2 separate regions of the Homo sapiens genome follow, and region 2 is linked to region 1. Evidence: promoter capture Hi-C in 16 types of primary human blood cells and fetal thymus (Javierre and others, 2016). All regions are on one chromosome and are shown on one strand. Each heading gives the region's core, a stretch centred on a gene start or on the middle of the fragment in contact. The rest is flanking DNA. Distances are from core to core; before and after follow the strand shown.

What was found. The method cuts DNA at HindIII sites, captures the fragments that hold promoters and counts their contacts. A CHiCAGO score of 5 or more calls a contact.
Region 2: a fragment that was not itself captured here is called in contact with the fragment with the promoter of HDHD3 in region 1 in 1 of 17 cell types (total B cells); the score reaches 5.2 in total B cells.

What each region holds. Positions count from the first base shown.
Region 1 is chr9:113,375,736-113,380,783 of GRCh38, forward strand. It overlaps HDHD3 (haloacid dehalogenase like hydrolase domain containing 3), which reads right to left and starts at 1,251. Exons shown (of 3, transcript NM_001304509.2): 1 at 994-1,251. RefSeq lists a silencer at 1,103-1,622. The HindIII fragment of the contact is 9,890 bases long and covers 1-3,081 here.
Region 2 is chr9:113,589,013-113,594,284 of GRCh38, forward strand. RGS3 (regulator of G protein signaling 3) reads left to right here. Exons shown (of 23, transcript NM_001394167.1): 19 at 2,321-2,385. Among named protein-coding and RNA genes, the nearest start is that of RGS3, 130 kb to the left of the region's middle. RefSeq lists enhancers at 1-456, 457-956. The HindIII fragment of the contact is 452 bases long and covers 3,797-4,248 here.

The sequences.
Region 1 (5,048 bases), core at 1-2,500:
GAGGCTGGTGCAGCTTCTTTCCCCAGACAGAGCTGATCCCAGACAAGGCCGTCCCCTTGAAACCTGAGGGGCCAGAGTTCAAAGTACGGCTAAGTTGATACTTAGGGAAGGGCGTCACTGGTAAATCTGGGGGAGCCTTGGAGGAAGTTTGTCCAGGAAATGAATTAAGGAGACTCATCCAAAGATCCTCTCATTTTGCAGGTGGGTAGACAGAGACCCAGTGAGGGGCAGTAATTTACCCCCAAATCACACAGGGAGTCACATTGGCACAGCTAAGACTAGAGCAGAGGGCTCTGGCTCCTGACCCACGGCTTTTTTTTTTTTTTTTTTTTTTTTTTGAGGCGGAGTTTCGTTCTTGTTGCCCAGGCTGAAGTGCAATGGCGCGATCTCGGCTCACTGCAACCTCCGCCTCCCAGGTTCAAGCGATTCTCCTGCCTCAGCCTCCCAAGTAGCTGGGATTACAGGCATGCGCCACCATCCCCGGCTCCTTTTTTTTTTGTATTTTTAGTAGAGACGGGGTTTCTCCATGTTGGCCAGGCTGGTCTCGAACTCCCGACCTCAGCCTCCCAAAGTGTTAGGATTACAGGCGTGAGCCACTATACCCGGCCGGCTTTTTTTCTTTTTTTTTTTTTTTGAGACAGAGTCTCACTCTGTCACCCAGGTGTACAGTGGTGCGATCTCGGCTCACTGCAACTTCCGCCTCCCGGATTCAAGCGATTCTCCTTCCTTAGCCTCCAGAGTAGCTGGGACTACAGGCGCGCGCCACCACACCTGGCTAATTTTTGTATTTTTAGTGGAGACGGGGTTTCAACTATGTTAGCCAGGCTGGTCTCGAACTCCCGAACTCGTGATCCTCCCCCGCCCCACCCCGCCCCCCGGCCTCCCAAAGTGCTGGGATTACGGTAAAGGCGTGAGCCACCGCGCCCGGCAGGGCTTTTTCGATTTCTAAAACCGCGGGTTTGGGGCTCTGCGCTGCAGGCACGAACTGCTCACCTTTTCTCCCCACCTCCAGGGCTCGGGAAAGGCGAAGTCCAGGAGCCCGGACCTGACGCAGAATGTCTATAGCTGCCGTCGGCAGCGTGAGCTGGGGCGGCGGTCCTAGGGGCCTTGGCCGCGGCCGACCCCTTGGGTCCCCTTCTCAGCTGTAGGGCGTCCACGGCTCCGGGCCGGTTCCTGGGCCCAGGACCCACCTGACTCACAAGGAAGCAGATTGAAAACGCAGCCGCAAGGCCCGCGAGCTCGGGCGGAGGTGCGCAAGCGCCGGGCGGTGGGGCGGGGATCGCGCGGGCCGCCCCTCCCTACCATCCCGACCCGCCTCTGTCCCCGCCCCGTCCCCGCCCTTATCCCCCTCACCTTCGCCCTCTCCCGCCCCATCTCCCGTCGCCCTCGCCGTCCCCTCTCCCTCCTTCGTCTCACTGTGCACCTCTCTGCGCCCCTGTCACCCGCCTTCACTGCGCGCCTCCGTTACCCTGCACCATCTACGCCCCTTATTCCCTCCCCGCACCCTCTGAGGTTCCCCAGCCCGCACCCTTCCGCTCCGCAGCCCCCGTTACCAGCACCTTCTCCGCCCTGTCTGCGCACCCCCTGCCCGCCACACCGCCGCTCCTCACCGCTGTCTCCGCTCCCCATCCCCAACCCCGGCTCCTGGCCTCCTTTGGATCGGGAAACCCCCGAGAAGTACCCAGGTTGAGTGGGAGGAGGGGAGTTGGGACCCAGCCTGGCTTGCTTAGTGTTGTGTGAACCTGGGCAAGGCCCAGCCCCTCTCTGGTCTCAGGGTCCCCAGTTGGTATTGGAGGGAATTGCTTTCAGTTGGAAACTTGTTAAATCCAAGATAACTTGGTGAGGGTAGAGTCCGCTGCAGTAACCTGCTTTTTTATTCTTTCTCTTTTTTTTTTTTTGAGACGGAGTCTCCCTCTGTCGCTCAGGCTGGAGTGCAGTGGCGCGATAGCCCACTGCAACCCCCGCCTCCCAGTTTCTTGCGATTCTCCTGCCTCAGACTCCCCAGTAGCTGGGATTACAGGTGTGTGCCACCACACCCAACTAATTTTTGTATTTTTAGTAGAGACAGGGTTTCGCCGTGTTGGCCTGGCTAGTCTTGAACTCCTGACCTCAGGTGATCCGCCCACCTCAGCCTCCCAAAGTGCTGGGATTACAGGCATGAGCCACCGCACCTGGCCTCTTTTTGTTTTTAAGAACCCTGTGGTACCATCCTGGCTAACACGGTGAAACCCTGTCTCTGCTAAAAATACAAAAAATTAGCCGGGCATGGTGGCAGGTGCCTGTAGTCCCAGCTACTCGGGAGGCTGAGGCAGGAGAATGGCATGAACCCGGGAGGCGGAGCTTACAGTGAGCCAAGATTCTGCCACTGCACAATATTTGCCTGGGCAAAGAGCGAGACTGTGTCCCCAAAAAAAAAAAAAAAAAAAAAGATCCCTGTGGTAAGAGCCTGGAATCCTAACCACTAGACCACCAGGGAGCTTTTTTATTCTTTTGAAGAATAAAAAAAGAGTTTTATCTTTGTTTGCAAAAGTAATGTATGTTGGCTGGGCGCGGTGGCTCACGCCTGTAATGCCAGCACTTTGGGAGGCTGAGGTGGGTGGATCACCTGAGGTCAGGAGTTCAAGACTAGCCTGGCCAACACGGTGAAACCCCGTCTCTACTAAAAATACAAAATTAGGCGAGGTGGTTCATGCCTGTATTCCCAGCTACTTGGGAGGCTGAGGAAGGAGAATCGCTTGAACCGGGGAGGTGGAGGTTGCAGTGAGCCAAGATCAGGCTACTGTATTCCAGCCTGGGTAACAAGAGCAAAACTCCATCTCAAAAAAATAAAAAAATAAAAAAATAATAAATAAATAAGGTATGCATGTAATGCATGTTAGTCTCAAAAAACTAAAAAATACAAACATATGAGAGTTGGCCATGCAGAGGGGAAGGATCTGAGTGATGGTTAAGGGACCCCCTGATGCAAAGGCCTCCAGGCAAGAAAGTTTTTTTTCCGAACCAAAGAGACACTGAGGAACTATAGGAATGTTGCTAGCCAGGGGGTTTGGGCCAAAGAGGCTGGGGAGGTACCGGAGGGGAAGCTTTGAGATACTTCTGTGCCTGTGCTCTGTTCCTCTTTAGTCTCATCACCTTGCACTATGACCTTAGGCAAGACAGGTCATAAGACAGCCCCCACCACCCAGGCCCCTTTGAGAGGGTCTTGCCGCATACCCTGGAGGAAGGAACACTGCACAGAGAGGCCAAGAAGAATCTACACAGATGGGTCTTGGTGGGTTTCTCTATTCAGTCTATTAGCGTTTTGTGCAATCCTGTTTCTACATGTGAAGGGGTGGCCTGCCCCTCCACACCTGTGGGTATTTCTCATCAGGTGGGACGAGAGACTGAGAAAAGAAATAAGACACCGAGACAAAGTATGGAGAAAGAACAGTGGGCCCAGGAGACCGGCGCTCAGCATACGGAGGACCTGCTCTGGCACTGGTCTCTGAGTTCCCTCAGTATTTATTGATTACTATTTTCACTATCTCAGCAAGAAGAATGCGATAGGAGAGCGGGCTGATAGTGAGGAGAAGGTCAGCAAGAAAACATGTGAGCAAAGGAATCTGAGTCACAAATAAGTTCAAGGGAAGGTACTATGCCTGGATGTGCACACAGGCCAGATTTATGCTTCTCTCCACCCAAACATCTCAGTGGAGAAAAGAATAACAAAGCAGCATTGCTGCCAACATGTCTCGCCTCCCGCCACGGCGCGGTTTTTCTCCTGTCTCAGAATTGAACAAATGTATAATCGGGTTTTATACCGAGACGTTCAGTTTCAGGGGCAGGCAGGAGACAGAGGCCTTCCTCTTATCTCAACTTCAAGAGGCCTTCCTCTTTTACTAATCCTCCTCAGCACAGACCCCTCGCGGGTGTCGGGCTGGGGGACGGTCAGGTCTTTCCCATCCCACGAGGCCATATCTCAGGCTGTCACATGGGGAGAAACCTTGGACAATACCAGGCTTTCCAGGGCAGAGGTCCCTGCGGCTTTCCGCAGTGTATTGTGCCCCTGGTTTATCGAGAATGGAGAATGGCGATGACTTTTACCAAGCATACTGCCTGTAAACATTTTGTTAACAAGGCACATCCTGCACAGCCCTAGATCCCTTAAACCTTGATTCCATACAACACATGTTTCTGTGAGCTCAAGGTTGGGGCAAAGTTACAGATTAACAGCATCTCAGGGCAAAGCAATTGTTCAGGGTACAGGTCAAAATGGAGTTTCTTATGTCTCCCTTTTCTACATGGACACAATAACAGTCTGATCTCTCTTTTCCCTACATACACGGCCATGTACACTTCGTTGAACCTAAGCATAAAAATGGACAGTTTCCTCTGTATCTGTGGCTCTTCATTCTGAAGGCTCCCATGTCACAAAAAAACTATGATCAAATAAATGTATATGCTTTTTCTCCTATTAAAAAAAATACAGACATATTCAGGGTTAGGCATAGTGGCTCATGCCTGAAATCCTAGCACTTTGGAAGGCTAAGGTGGAAGGATCCCTTGAGCTCAGGGGTATGAGACCAGCCTAGGAAACAAAGTGAGACCCCATCTTGTTAAAAAATAATAACAGGCTGGGTGTGGTGGCTCACGTCTGTAATTGCAGCACTTTAGGAGGCCGAGACCAGTGGATTACTTGAGGTCAGGAGTTTGAGACCAGCCTGACCAACATGGTGAAACCCCATCTCTACTAAAAATACAAAAATTAGTGGGGCATGGTGGCAGGTGCCTGTAATCCCAGCTACTCGGGAGGCTGAGGCACAAGAATTGTTTGAACCTGGGAGGCAGAGGTTGTAGTGAGCTGACATCACAGCATTGCACTCCAGCCTGGGTGACAGAGCAAGACTCTGTCTCAAAAAATAATAATAATAATGCAAAATACAAACGTGTACAAAATAAAAAGCCAGCCCCCCACCAACACCCAACCTCATTCATTGACCACCTAACATCTGTGGGCTCTGTGTCCCCTGTCCTTCTCTGAGGATTCAGTGGGAAACAAGGTGGTTCCT
Region 2 (5,272 bases), core at 2,773-5,272, 220 kb after region 1:
CTAGTCCCTGGAGGTGGCTGGATGAGGCTGGGCAGGGCCCAGGGATTCTGCCTGGAGTGAAGGAAGGGCTGTATGGTCCTGGACTCACCTCCATCTGCTTTTCAGCTGGACAAGGTCACATAGTGAGACAGTGGGGAGAAGATGGAAAGGAGAATCCCTTTGGAGGGCCTTTGCAGACTAGGCCCTGGGCAGGCATTGATGCAGCTGTGGGAGGGGAGGGAAGAGTCTGAGGAGCCACTCTGGCCCCCTCCAAGGTCAGAGGCCAAAGCCTCCCTGCAGCTATGGTGAGTCCCTAGGGCTGGGAATCAGAACCCGATTTTTTCACCTCAATTTCTCCTTGGCTCACAGGCTCTTTTTGGTGCTGGGGTTTCCCCAGCAGCCCAGGGGGCTGACTCCTAGGGCCAGAGCTGCCCAGCCCCTCTGTCAGGCTGCTAGGCTTGGGTCAGTCCCTGCTGAAGACACTCTCCTCCCCACAGTGGAAGGAAGAGCCCATTTCCCAGCAGCGCAGAGGCTGAGGATGGCGGCTGGGTGGGAGTGGTCCCCAGGCCCATTGTGTGGAGCCGATAAAGTACGGAAGCTGAGGTTAGAATGGGAGGAAGCCCAGGGCCCGAGGGCTCTTTCCCACGGGTGGGGGCCTTGGGCATGGCCTTGCCAGGCCAGCATGAGTGCAGCCTGTATGTGCACTGAAGGGTGCCCTGAATGGTGACAGTGGTAACACTCACTGGGCAATGACCACTGGTTACTGAGGTTAGCGTGGGTGCCAGGACTGGGCCTTGGGGTCCAGAGTTTATCCTGGTGAACCTTCCATCAGCCCTGTGAAGTGGCTGTCACTATGCCTAAGCCATAGCTAAAAAAATGGAAGCCGAGAGGCTAGGAAACTTACCCAAAGTTGGTGAAAGCAGGATTTATATCCAGGTCTGGTTCCAAACACTTGCTCTGAAATCACACACCATACGGTGTGTGCCTCTGTGTGCACGTACACACATGTATGTTTACAACTCTGGTGGGGCAGCATTCTCAGGAAGGAGGCAGCACTTCCCGAGTCTTTCACAGGAAACATTAAAATGTGTTCTGACCTTGCATTTTTGAGTAGCAGCATCCTCTGGTGGAGAAACACAGGCCTTGAATTGAGGCAGATTCCAGCTCTGTCACTTACATGCTGGGTCTCCTTGGGGAAGTGACTTAAATTCTCTGAGCCTCTATTTACTTTATAGGTTTATTGTGAGGTTTAATGAGATAGTATCTGAATTATGCCCCATCCAGGGTCTGGCCTATAGTATGAGCTAAATGAAGGTGTAATTCATCCATCCATCCACTCATCCACTCCTTCATCCATCCACCCACCCACCCACCCATCCATCTATTCACCCATGCATTCATCTACCATCCACCCACCCACCCACCCATCCATCTATTCACCCATGCATTCATATATCCATCCACTCATCCATCCATCCACCCATCCATCCATCTATCCACCCACCCACCCATATATTCATCCATCCATCCATCCATCCACTCATCTATCCATCCACCTATCCACATATCCATCCATCCATCCATCCATCCATCCATCCATCCATCCATCCATGCAGGTGGGAGACTCACAAAAGCATCCCCCGAGGAAGGAATTGCACATGGAGATGAAGACCTTCTGTTGGTTGGAAGGCAGAGTTGAGGAGGTTGCTGAAGTAGGGGCCAGGCTGGAGAGATAACTGAAGGAATAACTGAATGGAACTTTCTGCCCTGATCCTAAGATGGTAGATCCAGTCGTGTTACGGAGTTTGAATGTTATCCCGAGGGCACTAGGGAGCCATGGAAAGCTATAAGGCAAGAGAGGTGCACTCAGGCCTGTGTAATGATTTATTTTATACACTGCTGACCATCTCAGGTCTCCTTTGAACTTCAGAATCCTGACTTAATCATTATGATCCTGATTTTAGAAATTAAGGAATAGAGGCTTAGAGAGGGGCAGGGATTGGCCTAGTGACACAGCAGAAGCCCTGCCCTCTCACCTGCTCACTGCCTGCAATGAAGCCTCTGTCCTGAGTGCCAGCCGTCTGGCTTCTCCCCAGTGAGCTGGGGACCTGACTGTCCCAGGAGGAGATCCCTGTGGCCGGAGAGTCTGCCAGGCCGATTCCACTTCATGGCCAGGCTGTTCCCAGCAGTGGGGTTTCCCTCCCTCACCTGTGTGCCGCGGGTGGGGGCTTTGGGGATGGAAGGGGCTGGTGGCAGGGAATGTTGGGTCTCTGAGCCTCTGTTTACTTAGGCAGGAGTTCCTGGGTGCCCAGACTGCATCGTGTCTGTCTTCTCTCCGCAGATGAGCGGGGCTGACACCGTTGGGGATGATGACGAAGCCTCCCGGAAGAGAAAGAGCAAAAACCTGTACGTTGGGAAGATCCCTGGCTTCTGCGCTCCTCTTCCTCCCTTGCCCCAGGGCTTGTCTCTCCTCTAGGGGTCCAGGTGGGGAGAAGAGGTTGTGCCTGGTCCCGCCCACAACCCCAGACAGACACCAAGGAAAAACTGGATCTTGGAACTTTGCAGTGACCCCAAAGTGGGGTCACCTGGGTCCTGAGCATTCTCTCCAAGTGAGGCAAAGTGCTGATTCAGTACCCGGAAGCCACAGTGAACCAGAAGCAACCAGCCCGTTTGCCCTGGCTTTAGCCCAGCTTCTGAGCCAAGCAGGGACCAAGTGACTTCAACAACTCCTTTGCTCCCTCTGGGCCCAAGAGTGACCTGAGAAGGGGTGGAACTGACAGTCATTGGCTCCTCTTTCTCTTCCTGAGCTCCTGAATGCTAATAGTCTCAGGCATTGCCAGGAGGGGGCGCTGCTGGCCCAGCTGCCGAATCCCGCACTCGCCAAGCCTTTCTGGCCACACTCAGGCCTTCTTATACTATAGGGTGTTTGTTAGAGGTGTCAATGAAAAAGATGTGTGTGTGGGTTCTCAGGTCTTCTTCTACCCCCAGGCCTAAGACCCTGGAGACTCGGGGGAGGTATAGGGAGGAGGCAGTGGGGTGCATGCACAGTGACACCTCCAGAGGAAGCCCCTCCCCACCAGGTCCTGTAGCACCCACCACTAGGCAGGAATTGGGCTATAGGGAGGAGCCTCCTGCAACCCTCTTCTCTGGCCTTGACCGTGGGTGGGGTCCACTACCCTAGAAAGCCTTCCTCACCCCAGCTGCCTTGACCTCTCCAGCTTTCTGCAGCAACTGTTGGCTTCTCTTACTCCACAGCCAATTGCATTTTCTTAGCAAGGTGAAATGCATAAACCAAAACAGTCCCTTGCACCAACCATCTTCACTTAACCTTTTGTAGGATGAGAGAGGATCCAGGGGGTGCCAGGACTGTTGAATGTGGTGCTGGAAGTGGGAGGTGTAGGGAAGCAGTGTGTGGCGCAGAGGGCAGGCATCCCGGGTGCTGGAGCAGCCCTGTCTAGCCTCCTTTCAATGTAGGTGCTGCCTTTTGAATTGCCTGAAGCCCACACTTTTTTTTTTTGGAGACAGAGTCTCCTTCTGTCACCCAGGCTGGAGTGCGATCTTGGCTTGCTGCAACCTCCGCCTCCCAAGTTCAAGCAGTTCTTGTCCCTCAGCCTCCCAAGTAGCTGCGATTACAGGTGTGTGCCATCACACCCAGCAAATTTTTTTTGTACTTTTAGTAGAGATGGGGGTTTTGCCATGTTGGCCAGGCTGTTCTCAAACTCCTGGCCTCAAGTGATCTTCCCGCCTCGGCCTCCCAAAGTGCTGGGATTACAGACATGAGCCACCATGCCTGGCCTCTGAAGGTCATACTCTTAAAAGCTTAGACGAAGAGTCTTAGAACATCTACGGTAATAATAAGAATAACCATTAATGTTTATTATGCCCCGCACTGTTCTGTGTGTATTTCATATGTAATCTAATTTAATCTTTACCACTACTTTTATTTTCCGTTCTGTTCTTTCTTATTGACCTTACCCTTATTTTACACGTGAATAAACTACTGTGCAAAGAGGCTAAGTTACATGGCAAGAAAGTGGTGGGGTTGGGACCTGGAGACCTGGCCTGCTGGCTTCTGTTTGAGGAAACAGCTTGACAGAGAAAAAACCTTGATAGGAAACTTGAGAGATCAGGAAACGTGTCAAAGGGCACACAGCTGGTAACTGCTGGAGCTGGGATTTGAACCCAAGACTAGCTCCAGAGCCTGGGATCAGCCTCCCCTGCAGGACTCTCCTTCATTAGACAGGGTGTCTAGGTCTTAGTGCCATTTTAAGCTTGAATAGCATCAGAAGTATAAATGCTTCAAACTTACCAAACCCCCTTGAAAGTTTAATTATTAAATTTCTTTTGCACGTCTTTAGTTATGTGATTTTTGAATAATCAATTTTTCATTTTCATTTTTGGTTTGAGTCAGCATTTTCCATCTTTGGGAGGATGGAGACCAAAACTTAAAGTGAAACATTTATTATTCGAAAATCACAAAACCATGCACACAACATTAAATAATTAAACTTTAAAATGGTGTTTTTGTAAGTTTATAGGACTTGTACTTCTGAAGTTATTCAGGCTTAAAACTACTAAGATGTTGGGGTCCTGCTGTATATTCATGACTGGATGTCGCCAATGCAGGTGACTGAGGCTGAGAGGCCGGCTGGCAGGAGCCATTCTCTGGGAGGTGCCCTGTACAGGGGGTCTAGGGAAAAGAGGGGCGAACATGAGCAAGAGGCATTTAACTCCTTTCTTGCCAGCAGTTTCACCCAGTGCTGAATTCTGCTGCCTCCTTGGGGACCGGCAAGGCTAAAAATGGTTCTTGGCTAAAAATAGCCAGTCCTGCCACCCCGGTGGTGGGCAGTGCCTCCCCTGGCTCCCTCCTTCCCTTTCAGCAATTTGCTGACTTGTCCCCCACCCCCCACCACTGTCTCCCTGCTGCCATGGTAACGAGGAGGCCAGTCACAAATAGCTGGGACTGGCTTCCTGCCGGGGCGGCCCCAGAGGCTGTCCCTTGCAGACACATGCCCCTTTCACGGCTCCCTCTCAGGGTTGGCCAGAAGGAATTTTTTTTTCCGCTCCCCCTCCTGGTCCCTCCCATTTCCTGGCTCCTCCTGTCTGAGTCCCAGCCCCGGCTTGTGCCTGGGAGTCCAGTCATCAGGCCAGGATTCCAGAGAGCGTGTGTGGCTGCAGCCTGCACCGTTGCTGCCCGCTGCCCAGGACGCGGGGTGGGGGACAGGAGCCAGAGTGGTGCCTCCTACAGACCAATCTGCGGCCCCAAGGTGGGGGGCCCTACAGAGATGCTCCG